Linked DNA regions of Homo sapiens: region 2 is linked to region 1. Evidence: promoter capture Hi-C in human tissues and cell types (Jung and others, 2019). All regions are on one chromosome and are shown on one strand. Each heading gives the region's core, a stretch centred on a gene start or on the middle of the fragment in contact. The rest is flanking DNA. Distances are from core to core; before and after follow the strand shown. Region 1 holds the start of SMIM21 (small integral membrane protein 21). Region 2 has its middle 23 kb from the start of PTGR3.

What was found. Contacts are between HindIII fragments. The study calls those that stand out against the background at their distance.
Region 2: a fragment that was not itself captured here is called in contact with the fragment with the promoter of SMIM21 in region 1 in 4 of the 25 tissues and cell types used here (heart left ventricle, lymphoblastoid cells, mesenchymal stem cells and 1 more).

The regions. Positions count from the first base shown.
Region 1 is chr18:75,424,919-75,431,860 of GRCh38, forward strand. SMIM21 (small integral membrane protein 21) reads right to left here and starts at 2,785. Exons shown (of 3, transcript NM_001037331.3): 1 at 2,517-2,785. The coding sequence starts at 2,645. LOC105372200 (a long non-coding RNA gene) reads left to right here. Exons shown (of 4, transcript XR_935636.3): 4 at 1-1,743. RefSeq lists an enhancer at 4,878-6,077. The HindIII fragment of the contact is 8,486 bases long and covers 1-6,072 here.
Region 2 is chr18:75,183,101-75,189,859 of GRCh38, forward strand. No RefSeq gene overlaps it. Among named protein-coding and RNA genes, the nearest start is that of PTGR3, 23 kb to the right of the region's middle. The HindIII fragment of the contact is 3,462 bases long and covers 1,111-4,572 here.

The DNA of each region.
Region 1 (6,942 bases), core at 1,535-4,034:
GCTCAGATGTGCTGCACATCACACTCCTCACGCTGTTGTGGGCAAAGCAAGCCACAGGCCAAGCCTGGTAGTGGATCAGCTCCCTCAAGTCTCATGGCGATGGGCGAGTGTATCTGCTGTTACTGAGAAAAGAGAGGGGTAAATAGTTGTGACAGATGATACAAATGTGCACACCTCAGCTGACACAACTCCAGTGGAACAGGCTGTCTGTTGTACTGGAACCAATGTGAGCTTTTGGATTTTCGTCGTCTGTGCATGAGAGAGATTCCACTGGACACCAAGCTTATCCACAGCCTCCATCCAGAGATATCTGGATTTAATGAACACCCAGTCACTGCCTGCAAACAGGAGATACTGAGTTTCCAGTACATAAGAACTCCTAGATGCATGAATACCTAAGAAGAAATTAAATGTGAAGATCTGATCAGAAACATAGTGGAACCAGTGAACACTGGCCAAAAGAAAAAAAAAGTCCCATTCCACTGCCTGGACAATAGCAGGAAGGAATTCCTTATAGTTTCATGCCCTGTATTGGCTTTAGAGTCATTAATGAACAGTATCTATGTCGTATGATCCATGAAGTAGTGAGAATTGTTCACACCTGAAACCATTTTCCTACTGGCTACAGAAACGTTACCATCATATGATTTATTATTAAGTGTTGTTTTCCTTGTCAACATTTTGTGGTTTAACAGCCCACCTAAGTGTGAATCAGTTATCAACTGGCTTTCTTATTGAAAAGACAGACGAGGCTGCATGAAAATGCTTAGCACATGGGTAGGAAGCAGTGGATGAAAATAGCAGAAGTGGGACCCAGAAGATGAACTCTTTTACATTTGATTATTCAGATTATATGTAAGTTCCCATCCTGCTGAAATCTCTTCAGCAGCAAGTTAACCTCCAACCTAAGAAAGATGGAAGAAATCAAGAGTTGAAGATGGAGGGGACAGGGACAGTCTCTGTATCTGTGTGCTCCCTGAGGTGGGGGCCCCTGCCTCTCCCATCTTTGCACTCCTCATGCCTACTGTGTACCTGGTGCAGACCAGCTGCCCTGAAATGTTTGAGGTGCTGTGTTACCATTGCCTCTTTTGATTGCCCACCGAGTGCCTCCTGAGTCATGCACCCCATCACAGCCCTCACGCAAGGCCTGGAGACAAACCCAGCACACACCGGCCTAGTATTAATTCATAACCATCATCATGTACCTAAGATTCTACCTACCTGGATGTTGATTGATGAAATTTATAAAGTATTAGAAGGACTTCAAATCGACTTACAACTATCACATATGAAATGCACAAAACCAGCTTTTAAAGCCTTCTATAATTTGTTTAAGACTGAAGAACTTTAAGACCATTACTTTTATTTATTTATTTGTTTGTTTGTTTGTTTGTTTGTTTGTTTTTTGAGGGACAGAGTCTCGCTCTGTCACCCAGCCTGGAGTGCAGTGGCACAATCTCGGCTCACTGCAAGCTCTGCCTCCCGGGTTCACACCATTCTCCTGCCTCAGCCTCCCAAGTAGCTGGGACTACAAGTGCCCGCCACCACGACTGGCTAATTTTTTGTATTTCTAGTAGAGATGGGGTTTCACTGTGTTAGCCAGGATAGTATCAATCTCCTGACCTTGTGATCTCCTCGCCTCGGCCTCCCAAAGTGCTGAGATTACAGGCATGAGCCACTGCACCCGGCCCTAGACCATTACTTTTAAAATGTAAAAAAAAAAAAAAAAAAAAAAAAAAAAAAAAAAAAAAAATGGAAAAAGGAAAAGGAAATAAAGAAGCAGCAGTGGGGATCAAGACAGAGGAAGGAGATGCTACCTGCCTGCTCCCATCCATCTCCTCTTCACAGTCAGAAACACTAAGAGGAACCCTGTGCTACAGGAGAAGACATTCCAGAAATTTTGTCTTAGGACTTTAACCTTTCCGATATATGACTGGGTCATAAACTTCCTTTTCAGAAGCTATTGATCACCCCATCACCTCTGCAAATGGGGTGTCTATAAATGCCATCTGTTGCCTGCACATTGGCTACTGGTTCATGAATGGTTAAATTTGTTGCAACTTTTGCTTCTGTCCTGTAATGAAGGAAAAGAAACTTTCTTCTAGGAGTGCAGTATCAAATTTGTCTGGGTAGGTTGAGTTTGTAGGTGTTGCAGGTGCACCTAGGCTTAAAGCATTTGGAGGTATCCTTGCATCTGTGTTAAGAGGCTCTCTCTGTAGGGGAGAGATCATTGACTCATTGGCCTGTATACTGATGTAATGTCAAGGGGAGGGCCCAGTACCTTTTCTGAAAGGGGCAGCTCTTCCTCAGATTGGGAATTGGAATTGGGAGGTTGTCTTGGCCAGAACTGAGAAAGAAAGAGCTCTGGATTGACGTCTCATCTTAAACTTCGTAGAATCTGGATTTGAGAGACAGAGCACTCACAGGAGATTGGGGCAAAAGAGTGCTTTGTAGGACCATACCTGTGCAGTGATACGTCTCTCTCATAACCCAAAGTTAAAGACCCATAAACTCACTGTGGTAAGTGCTTTCTTCTGCAGCAAATTCCCCTTGAATATCCGTCCCATTCCTGCAGAGTCTTGTTTAAATGTTCCCAGCTGTGCTATAGGGAATCGGGGAGGAGCTGTGGACACATACTGGTCCATGTGGGGGCTGCGGCGGTGACCAGTGAGAGGTCTCCTTGATGACAGCGACTCTGAGGACACAGAGCTGGTGCTATAAGACCTGGTAACTAAGTTCCCAAGGAGCTTTTCTCTTCTTTGCCAACCTTGAAGATCTGGGTATTATTTTATGAAGCTGGATGGAATCTTCCCACATGTAGAGTTCTCAGGTCCAGGTATTATTTTATGAAGTCGGATGGAATCTTCCCGCACATGGAGTTCTGAGGTTTCTCAGGTTGCTCTCTGGCTCAGTGATGCTGTGTGAGAATGTTCAACCATATCTCCACAGCACAAGCTTTGGATCTGATGTCAAGAAGCTTTTGTGAATATTAAAAATGAACCGCATCTCCCTGAATCAAAATAAATACTACTATATGCACTTCAATGGAAATAAAATCTGGGATTCTTTTTGGGCCCTAAGCAAAATGTAGAAATTCATTTTCCCATCAGACTTTTCAGTAACTTTCTTTTAACCTAATGAGACACTCCACAGGAGACTAACATTTCTTTCGCTGAATTCCAAGTGTAGGTTTCCTGGGTTGTCCATTTAATTGTTAAAGTGAGAGAGATTCTGCTGGAAGACAAGCACCATGGAACAGCAGGAGGAAAGCTGAATGGAGGTTACTTGGGAGCTACCCCAGGAAGAAGCGCTGTGCAGACCATCATCGCAGGGTGGAGAGTAGCCATGAGACGTGTGTGGTGGCCTCTGGATGCTGCTGTGCTGCCTCATGGGAATTTTCACAGATCTTCCACTGTTTGTAAATGGTGCCCAATGAGCGGAAAATTAAGTGGTACTTAACACACACACGTTCACCAAATACTTGCAGCGTTATCCCCATAGTGTGGATGGCTTTTGACAAGGTGCCTGATGAAGAGAGATGCACATAGTTGTGAGTCCCAGCCTACAGAAGCTCATGATGGGTGCTCCACAGTGTTGGTGTTGAGTAAAAATGCCCAGGACAGTATGCACTGTGCTTGACGCACAGTATGACTAAGAAAATACCTGTTATTATGTGAACAGTGACCATATGCACAGCATACAAATCAGTAGCCCAGTGCTGTTCTGATGGTCTTGTCCTGAGTGGTTTTTCCCATCTAGTTGGAGACAAGACTCATTCTCTAGAAAGAAGAGCAAAAAATGGTGGGTCCCACCAAGGCCATGGACAAGGGAAAGGCAGAAACGTGCAGAGGGAGCAGAGACAGAGGAGGCTTGAGACCTGTGTGGAGGGACAGGAAGGGAGCTCGGAAGCCCGTTTTGTAGCAGATCCCAAATTGTGAAAGTTGATAGTTGTGGAGCACACATATGCAGAGTAACATCTAGAATTCTCAGAGTTGGTGATTTAAAGAAAAGAGAAAAAAAAAACACTGACTAAAAATTAATCTTCAATTTCCCACAGGCCTTAAACTTCCAGCTGCTAAAAGACAGTGGGGTGTAGGGGGTGGAAAGAGACCTCATCTAGGAGGGACAGCTTGGTCTATGACAGTTGAGACAGGTGCCAAGGAGGGACGAAGTTGCTCTCTGCCAACTAGACTTAGGGGAAAAAACAACCATAATCATGTTTATTTTCATGATAAGCATATGCAAATCAGGCCACTACAATCTGTAAACATGGTAATTCCTCTTTATGGATAAGTTCAACTTAAAAGTTGTGAACAAGAGCAAAAGGATATAGTTTTCTAGTTTTCTAATGAGCTCAGAGTTTATGCCCAGTTATAGTTGAGCTCTGGAATGGTTTTTCTAGCTCTTCCTGTCCTTCTGTAGTTCTGGTAGAGAACCTATGAGGACCAGAAACAGAGCAAAGGCGGTTTAAATCCTGGCTGAACCGATTGCCCTCCACATGACCTAGGACAATTGACCCAACCTTTGTAGGCCTCAGTTTCCTTTCCTACAAAATAGGCAGGATAACCAGGAGGTCAAAGTGAAGTGACAAGATGTGAACCTGCTCTGTAAGATAATAAGCACTATTTGCTGGGAAGGGATTGCGGCTTCTTAGCTGTCCTTTAAGTGTGGTTGTCTGTGGATTAAGGAAGGAAAACTGGGTGTTAATTCTAAACAGCCCTCTGAATCAACTGGGGCTGAAGACCTGGGTGAGGGTAATCTATAGTCTGTGGATGTTAGGTGGTTAACTTCAAATAATTAGGAACAACACTGAAATATTTGACCATATCTAGTGCATCTGCTGAAAATTCTTTTTGAAAACTTAAACCCTGTAGTAGATTAAACCAGCCTTGGGCTACAGCCTGAAGCATGTGCCAATGAACCGTAGGCCTGCTAAGACCAGGAGAAGTACCAGGTGATAGAAAACAAAATGAATTTGGTGAATCTTACCTTCCCCACCCCTCCCTCCTTTTCCTCCCTTCCCTCATTTGAGGTTTAGATGTCCTGTTTCCTATAAACTCTCACATGCCCTGGTTTTTGACTAACGCATTTGTGATTAGACGAGGACATGGATAACTAATGAGAAGCCTCGTCACCCACGCAGCAGAGGAGCAGTGGAGAGATCACTCCTGAGTGTGCGTGCTGTGCTTAGCATAGCAGTGCGGCTCATAACCGTATGGGGGTGTTTAACAATGCCACTTGGTGATTTTTATGATGTCATGCCACAGTCTTCTTATGTCAGTTGGGCTCCTCCCACACCTATTATGAGGCATGAGAATGAAAGATCCCGCAGTTTATGGGCTGAGTCACAGTAGATGATTTGTAGGATTAAGATTAATCAGTGGCCTCTGATTAGAGTCTTAGTTAAATGAATCTGCTCCCTCCATGGGTCTTCGGTATTTAGAGACTTGGTCCAGGTTATCCTGTTAACCCGCTTTATTAGAGAATCTTATTGCTTTTTTTATGGGATTGTGAGAGCCCAAAGGTTTTTACTTTCAGCTGCTGCTGCTATTTTGCCCCTAAAAATAGAGAGTAAGCCATATTTTTTTTCTTTGGAAGAAAATGTTTTCTTTAAACTGTCATAGAAAAGGAGACTTTTCAAGCACATAGAAGTTATCTCAACTTTGGACTTGTGAAGAGAGCTGTCTGCATACACCGCATCTGGAATGAATAGGCACGATTCCTTCCCTCTGAGGGGTCTGCGGTGTCCCAGTCAGTGCAGAGGAGTTCAGGACACCGGTTCGATGCCTCTGAAGGAACAGCCATCATCATCCCTGGAAACATAGATTGTTGGTTGGTAGAGCTTATTGCTAAATTTGAAGAGTGTGCATCAGACACTAAAGCTGGTCCTTTCGTGAAGTGGGGTTTGGAGGCTGCACATTGCCAGAAAGAACCTGGCTTGCATCCCTTCCCTCTTCGTCACTCCCTGGCTTTTGGAGCCTCTTCATTAGGCTTGCTTGTGAAGTGTGTCCCTGTGCTCGGGTTCTCTTTCTGGATCTCAGTCCCCCTCAGATTGTCTGGTCCTTACTGTGATCTTCACACCTGACTCCGTTTTCTGAGTCCTGCTACCTAGTTCCAGCTCCAAGTCTCAAGTTCCCATGCAGGCCTCAGGCACACACAGACACATGTTCACTTTTGGGAAGATTCCACCCTGCCTCTGTGGCAGCTGTGCTGTGAGGCCGTTGAGAAGCCATGCACTATGTCAGCAGCGTTCTTTTCCCCCAGACTCTCAGACCCTGTGTGCCCCTCTCTGCACCGTGACCCTGTTTGTGGGACCCCGCTTTGGCTGTTTTGTCTCTTTGTTCTCTTCTCTTCCTCTTGAAAAGTGGACTCCCCTGGAGCTGTTCTTGACTGTTGTGTGATGTTGTCTACATTCCCTTTTGTGTTTTATTCACTAACTTCAAATTCCTGATCATCTGCCTGCAGACCACGCATAGAGCTTCTCCTAGTCAGCCTCACTGGCATCCCCAAACACTCCATTTGCCTGGCCAACCTCCAGCTCCACCTTTCTGTGATTTCCCTGCTCCTGTGAATGGTATCACCAGCCATCTAGTTAGCCGCTGCCATTGTCAGCCATCCCCTTCCTCCCACCCCTGGTGGTTCTGGCTTCACGTACCCTTCCCACCCCTCTTTAATATCTCAGAGTTCTGCGCTAATCTGGACCCTCATGCTGCTGGAGGGTACGCATGGCTGCACTGGTCACTCAGCGGCCCAGCTATCTCCATAGAATGGCCTAATGCCCATGTCTAAATCATGTTACTCTCATGCTCAGCCAATCCTCAGACCTTCAAGGGGTGCTCACAGGTTGCAAAAGGAAGCCCAAACATTTCAAAGTATTGGCCATGCCCCATATTCCCCGTCCTAATCTACTTGTAGCTGCACCAAACCCTTCACCTTATACAG
Region 2 (6,759 bases), core at 1,592-4,091, 240 kb before region 1:
GGAGTGAAGGCGCTGGAGTCAACTGCCTAGCCCCAAGCTTGGCTTCACCAATTACCGTGTGAACTTAACACAAGTCACTCAGCCTTTCTGGCCTGCCTACTTCTTGCTGTAAAATGGGATGAATATTAGCAACCATAAATGTGTGTTTTGAGAGTGAAATGAAAGATGAGTAAAGCATATAGTATAGTGCCTTGTCCCAATATTAAGGGAATTGTAGCTGTTGTTGTTATTATTCCTGTCAGAATTTCCCATGGAACTTCATAAATATGCATAGTCAGATTCTCTCCTGGATCCCTAAGATTTGCAGAATTTAATGTTCCCGAGTGCGGCCTTCATGGGGAAGCCCAGCAGCCTCCGTAGAGAAGTGCAAGCCACAGCCCTCCATGGAAACTACCCGTATGGCCAGCCCTTCTTCTATTGAGGCTAAGCATCTTACTCATGCCTAAGGAATGGGTTGGTCTAGACTACTACCCAGATCCCTGATCCCACCATGGCCAGGAGTTCCCTCTGCCCCTCCTTTGTGCCCCTCTGCCCACACCATCTTCTGCCTAGAGTCTCATTTCCTTAGGACTCCCTCTTTACCAGGTGAGAATCCCTGTAAACCAGCTAAACGGGTCGGTGACTAAGTTAAATGTCCTGTAGGTGAGTCACCCTCCTGAGAGCTACAGTAATGCCTCTTCTCCATGGAAGGGAAGGCCCATCAGTGGATGCATCTGTTCCCCTGCAGGTCAGGACTATGCCCCTATGGCCCCATGCGTGCGAGGGTACACACATGCTGGGCACCAAAAGCCCTTGTCTTGTCTGCCCACCCATGCCCCGGTGAACTCCTTCATTCGGTCAACAAACACCACTGCTCATGGGAGGTGCAGGCAGCAAAGAAACCAATTCAGCACTTGCTCGCTTGACGTGTACAGTTGGTGGGACAGAGACCATGTTTTGCAGACTTTTCATCCTCACTTTAGTACAGTAGGTGCCCAGTGAATGAGAGCTGAACGAGTTAAAGCACGAGCAAAGTCACACAGAACGGTCGCCATGTGAGTGCTCATGGCGCGATGCCCAGCTCTGCCGCAGAAGCAGGTCTAGCGGTTCTGGGCCATTGGCTTCTCCTGGGGCTGCCCTCCCCATCGTCACTGGAAGGCTGGAGGACTCTCCATTATGGAGCCCAGGGGAGGTTGAGGACGTCCCTGCACTCCCCGCCCTGTAAGCATCCACCCCCTCATTTACACAAGGAGGGAGGGGGGTTTAGTTCCTTGAGGGGTTGGTGCCAGATTGTTGAAAACCACTGGGTTTCTTACTGCTGCTCAGTGGTTGAATTCGATATAAAATACATGTTCCTGTTCATTGCCATTTATGTGTTAGTTATCATTAACAGCCATTATAATTTTTTCCCAGTGGCAATTACATTGATATTACTATATCTAAATCAAAGAGGACATTACAGCAATTACTGTCATAAGTTGATTGGGAACCACCTAATTTTTAAGTGACACTATTTTCTTATCAGCACGATAATTTTCCTTCGCAATAAATAATATACCAGGAGAGCTGTGCAACCACCAAGTGTATTCAGCTTGGTTTGCAAAGAGAATCTAACGTGCCATCTTGCATATGATTTTTTTTAAATAAATGGAAGTGTACTTACAGTTTCTTCTTCATGTAAGAAGAATAAAACCAAGATCTGAAATCCTAGGATTTGAACATATTTTAACAGATTTTGAACCCAATAGCTGAACTGCACAGGGATGGGAAGAGAAGGAGCTTTTCACACTTTCAATCTGTTCTTCAAGGTGATGAAGAGGAGGGGGCAGGAAAGGAGGAAGGGGGAGTCAGGAAGAGGCCTGGGTCAGTGGCCTCCCTTCCCTTCCCCAGCAGAGTAGCTCTCACATCCAGGGTCCCTGGCTCTGCCCAGGTGGGTGCTGTCTGGATGGGTTGCAGAAATTCAGGCAAGATTAATATTGCTCTTCTTTCCAGACCACCCCAGGTGCCAGGAAGCTGTACTGGCCACAGCCTTGGGGCACAGTGGGAGTTCTGCCTGCCTGTCTCCTGCACCTGCCTGCTGGTGCCTCAAACTCCTCTCAGCTGGACCAGAGCCTTCCAGTTCCTAAGGGGCGCTCACTGGGACTCCACATGGGTGATTTCACAGTGAAGTCAGTGGTCCCTGAGGGCTGGTTTCCAGGGGGCAAGCTTCTCTCTCCCGGGGGTTTGGAGAACGACACTGCCCCTCGGTGGGCACTGGGTGGGTGGGGCTGGCCAGCAGGGAGCCCGGGCTTACCCTGAAGGGCAGCGGGTGGTCGCTGTCTCTCTCCAACCCACGGTTCCACTCTACCTCGAGCCCTCCAGAGTCTGTGGCCCACTACCCCAATGCCCTCCTTCCCACCTCACCCCCTTCAGCTAGTGGAAGGAGGCAGCTGATCCTGTTCTCCTAGTTCAAAATAGTTTCTTCATCTCCATATGTGCAAATTTCAGCTCAAATGCCCCCTGCACCCCTGCATAGAGCTGGCTGCAAACAATTCATCCTTCCTCTGAACGCCCGCTGGGACACTTCCCAACTTCTGAGTCAGGCAGATCTGGCTTAAGGACTTGGACATTTTCCAGCTGTGTGACATTGAGGAATTTACCTGGCTTCTCTGAACCACAGTTTGATCAATAAGTGAAGAGGAAGATAACTTCTTTGGTCATCGACACTCTGAATGCTTACTGAGTACCTGCTATGTGTATGGTTTTGAAAAGCTTTGGGCCCCACTGGTAAAGCTGCCAGGTCCCTCCCCAGTTGTCCTATTTACTGGCCCTGGAACCTCAGGCATGTCTCTTCAGTGCTTTGTGCCTCAGTTTCCCCATCTGTAAAATGGGGGTGATAATAATGGATCCTACCACGGGGGCTAGTTATGAGGATTAAAGAAGTTACTACCTAAAGCTGTTGGATCAGTGCCTGGTGCACTACAGAAATGTTAGATTTATTGATTTAAAAAAATGGCACCTCTTCCAGATTCTATGTTGATTACAAGTTGGAATGACAGTATTTTGGATATATTGGGTTACATAAAATACATTCCACATTTTTAATGTGGCTATGAGAAAATTTTAAATTCCGTATGTGGCTCTCATGTGTGGCTCAAGTTACTGTCTCTATTGGACAGTGTCAGTCTAGAAGACACTGGCTGAGGATTAGATGAAGTAACATGCACCAAGCGCTTAGCATAAGGCCTAGATCACAGTAGGTGCTGAATAAATGTTGTGTCTCTCCTCTGCCCTGCCTTTCCTTCTCCCGAAGCCTCTCGTTATTTGTGCACCTGCGTTGCTCCCTCCCTGTTGAAGTGTGAGGTCTGTGCAGGTAGGATTCTACCTGGGCCCTCCTGCCCCTCCTGCAGACTCAGAACCTACAGGCAGGAGATTTGGACACTTGCAATGGATGGCTGAGGCCACTTTCTTGGAGAGGGTATTCTCCCAAGCTCCTGGCAGTATTGTTACGTGGCAAAACACTTCCCTATTGTTCATACTGGAACCTAGGACTAGGGGCTCCAGCTCAGCCAGGCCTCAGCCCTCCCTTCCCCGCTGCCCAGAGGGGCCCATGTCCCACCTCCGTGCACTCTCCCAGCTTCCAGGGTTCCAGGGGGCTGAAGACACGGGGGAGGGGAAGGAAGAGAACAAACAATGTTATAGGTTAACTTCATATTTTCTCTTCCTTCATTGCATTCGGGCTGCATGAAGGGCCAGGAAATGTGAACTAAACATGTGTGTGATAATGAGATTGTTGGTGGAAAGTCAGCTTGAAAGGACTGGGAGCAATTAAGCTTGCTGACTTACACAAGCTAGAATGACAAGATGCCAGAGCCGGCCCCGCTCACCCATATAATAGGGCCCTGTCCCCCTCAGCCTGTGTGTGGAGTGGGCCTGTCAGCCCCAAAGTGAGCATCCCCATTGCCAGGGAGCTGGGCCTGCCTCCTCCTCCTGACTCCTGCTCCACCAGGCCCTGGTTGCATGGACTGCCACTAGCAGACACCTGTGTCCAAAGACTCTCCGATTCCATGAAAAGTTGTCCCCTAAAGGAAGTACATCTGTCCTGAGTCCTCTCTCCTGCAGTTGTAACCGAATACTTTAGGACATCAGCAGGCTGCCCACAAACCTCAGTCAGTGCCCTCATAGTGCTCCCAATAATGCTCCTGTTCTTGCAGACCTGGCAGTGCATGGGCAGAGGAGTGACACTCTTAACAACATGGCCTTTGAAGGCTTGGGCAAGATGAGCAAGCAGTGTTCCTGAGGCCTGGGGCCTCTGAAGTCACACACGTGCTGAAATCCAGGAAGCTTGACAGGATCCTGCCTAAAATTGCAGAAGGCATGACTCCTACACCTGCTGTTTGTTTTTGGAGAAAATGAGGATCTTGAGCTCAGTTTCAAGGCTTCCCTGGCTCACAGCCCTGCTCAGGTGCAGCCCTCCACACTCACATTCCTTCCCACCTCCAGGAAAATGCAGAGCTCAAGGCTCTTCCTAGATCTCTGTCAATATCCCTCTTGCAAAGAGATCCCAGCATGAGTGGGATCCCAGCACGCAGCAAAGGGAGGCCATTTCCACGCACCGCCTTGATTCCTGATAAGGTTTTGCTGTGTCCCCACCCAAATCTCATCTTGAATTGTAATAATCCCCATGTGTCAAAGGTGGGACCAGGTGGGGATAATTCAATCATGGGGGCAGTTTCCCCCATACTGTTCTCCCGATAGTGAGTGAGTTCTCAGGAGAACTGATGGTTTGATAAGGGGCTTCCCCCTTCACTTTGCTCTCATTCTTCTCCTTCCTGCTGCCATGTGAAGAAGGACGTATTTGCTTCTCCTTGTGCCATGACTAAGCTTCCTGAGGCCTTTCTAGCCACGCTGAACTGTGAGTCAATTAAACCTCTTTCCTTTGTAAATTACCCAGTCTCAGGTATGTCTTTATTAGCAGTGTGAGAACGGACTAATACAATGCCCCTTAGCTGGTCATGGGGTCCAACTCTCATTCACAGTCTGCTTACTGAAGTTCTTCTCTCTACCCCAACATTTGGTGATCTTGGCAGCCAGATAAGGGTGAGGCCGAGGGAAAGTCGTTCATTCCTGCCCCTTGGCATTGGCTCTGGGTAGCCGGATTCCCAGGACTGTATGCAGTCACCAGCATTTTTCATGCTTTTCGTGTGGGTGGCCTTTCCCGGTAAGGAGAAAGATATACACACAAGGAGCCATGACTGCCATGAGAGACCTCTCTCATCATGACCAGTGACTCTGATGCCACACTTGGTTCCAGCCATTGGCTTCTGGTTAGGGACTGATGTCCCTCATCCCTGACGGTCCCATGGAGTGATGCCTGGGGGATGGCCCATCCTGGTTGAGTTTAGGGCTGTGTCATAGCTGGTCACACGTTCTTAGGGATCACGTCCTCTATAGTGGAAAAGTGAATGAAGTGTTTGAATGGAACACAACCTGCTTGCTGATGTGTGGCAAGCCTCTCTGTGGGTCCCTTTCCTAGTCATGAGCTTTTAAATGACAGAATTTTCCACCGAATATTATCACAGATTTTCTGCCATTAACAGAATAGGTGGATGACCTTGGAATAAAAAGCTCTAGAAAAAGAATGCTGCATATTACTTTTTTAAAAAATTGGAAGTGCTTTATATTATGCTGGGAGAGTACAGCAGGGAGAGGCCCACCCAAGGCTTGGGTGAGAGTGGCAGAGTGGTGTGTCCTAGGGCAGCTGCCATTCCTCCTCGGGCCTCAGTTTCCCCCCTACAAAACAAGGCAGGTAGATGATACCATCTTTAAGGTCCCTCTTGGATCGGAAGGTCTGTGGTTCTCTTGTCACAGCTATAACTCAGCAGCATCTTTTACCCCTTGGGGATGCGTGCAAAAGCAGACACTATGGGGAAAACATTATCACAAACCAAGGAACCGTGGATTCGGCAGGGTGGAAAACTCCTCATCCTCAAAGAAATAGTGTGAGGAACAAAGTTCTCTTTCACTCCCAAAATGACTAAAAACAAGCCATTAGTCATTTTATCAAAGAGGGGTTAGTCCTGATTCCACTGGCCAGCCTTCATTTTGGGAAAGTGATTAACTATAAATTTATCTTTAAACTTTCAACCATTCAGCACCATAAGACTGGAGAAAATAAAAATAAAAAAAATAAACTTTCAACCAGGCCAGGTGCGGTGGCTCATGCCTGTAATCCCGGCAATTTGGGAAGCCGAGGTGGCAGGACTGCTTGAGCCCAGGAGTTTGAGACCAGCCTGGGCAGCATACGGAGGCCCTGTTTCCACCAAGAAAAAAAGAAATTAGCTGGGCATTGTTGTGTGTGCCTGTGGTCCAAGCTATTTAGGAGGCTGAGGCAGGAGGATCCCTTGAATCCTGGAGGTCGAGGCTGCAGTGAGCTGGGATTATGCCACTGCATTCCAGCCTGGAGGACAGAGCAAGACCCTGTTGCTAAAAAACAAACACAAAAATTTTCAACCAATCTCCATGTTCTTTAATAGATAGACACTCTGCAAGTTAAAATGACTACTGGTGTGTAGTACAAGAAGGGTGCTTATGGCCAGCATAAAGACATTTATTTGGTGTCACCTGGCTCAGTTTTAGGCAGGGTAAGGGGTCTCTGCTGGCAGCAGCCAATAGCCATGGCTCACATCCCAGGGGTAAGCTTGCTCCAAGTGATTCACCGTGGGGGGCTGAAGGCAGGCACCCCACCCCATGGGTAAGCTTGCTCCAAGCGATTCACCATGAGGGGCTGAAGGCAGGCAC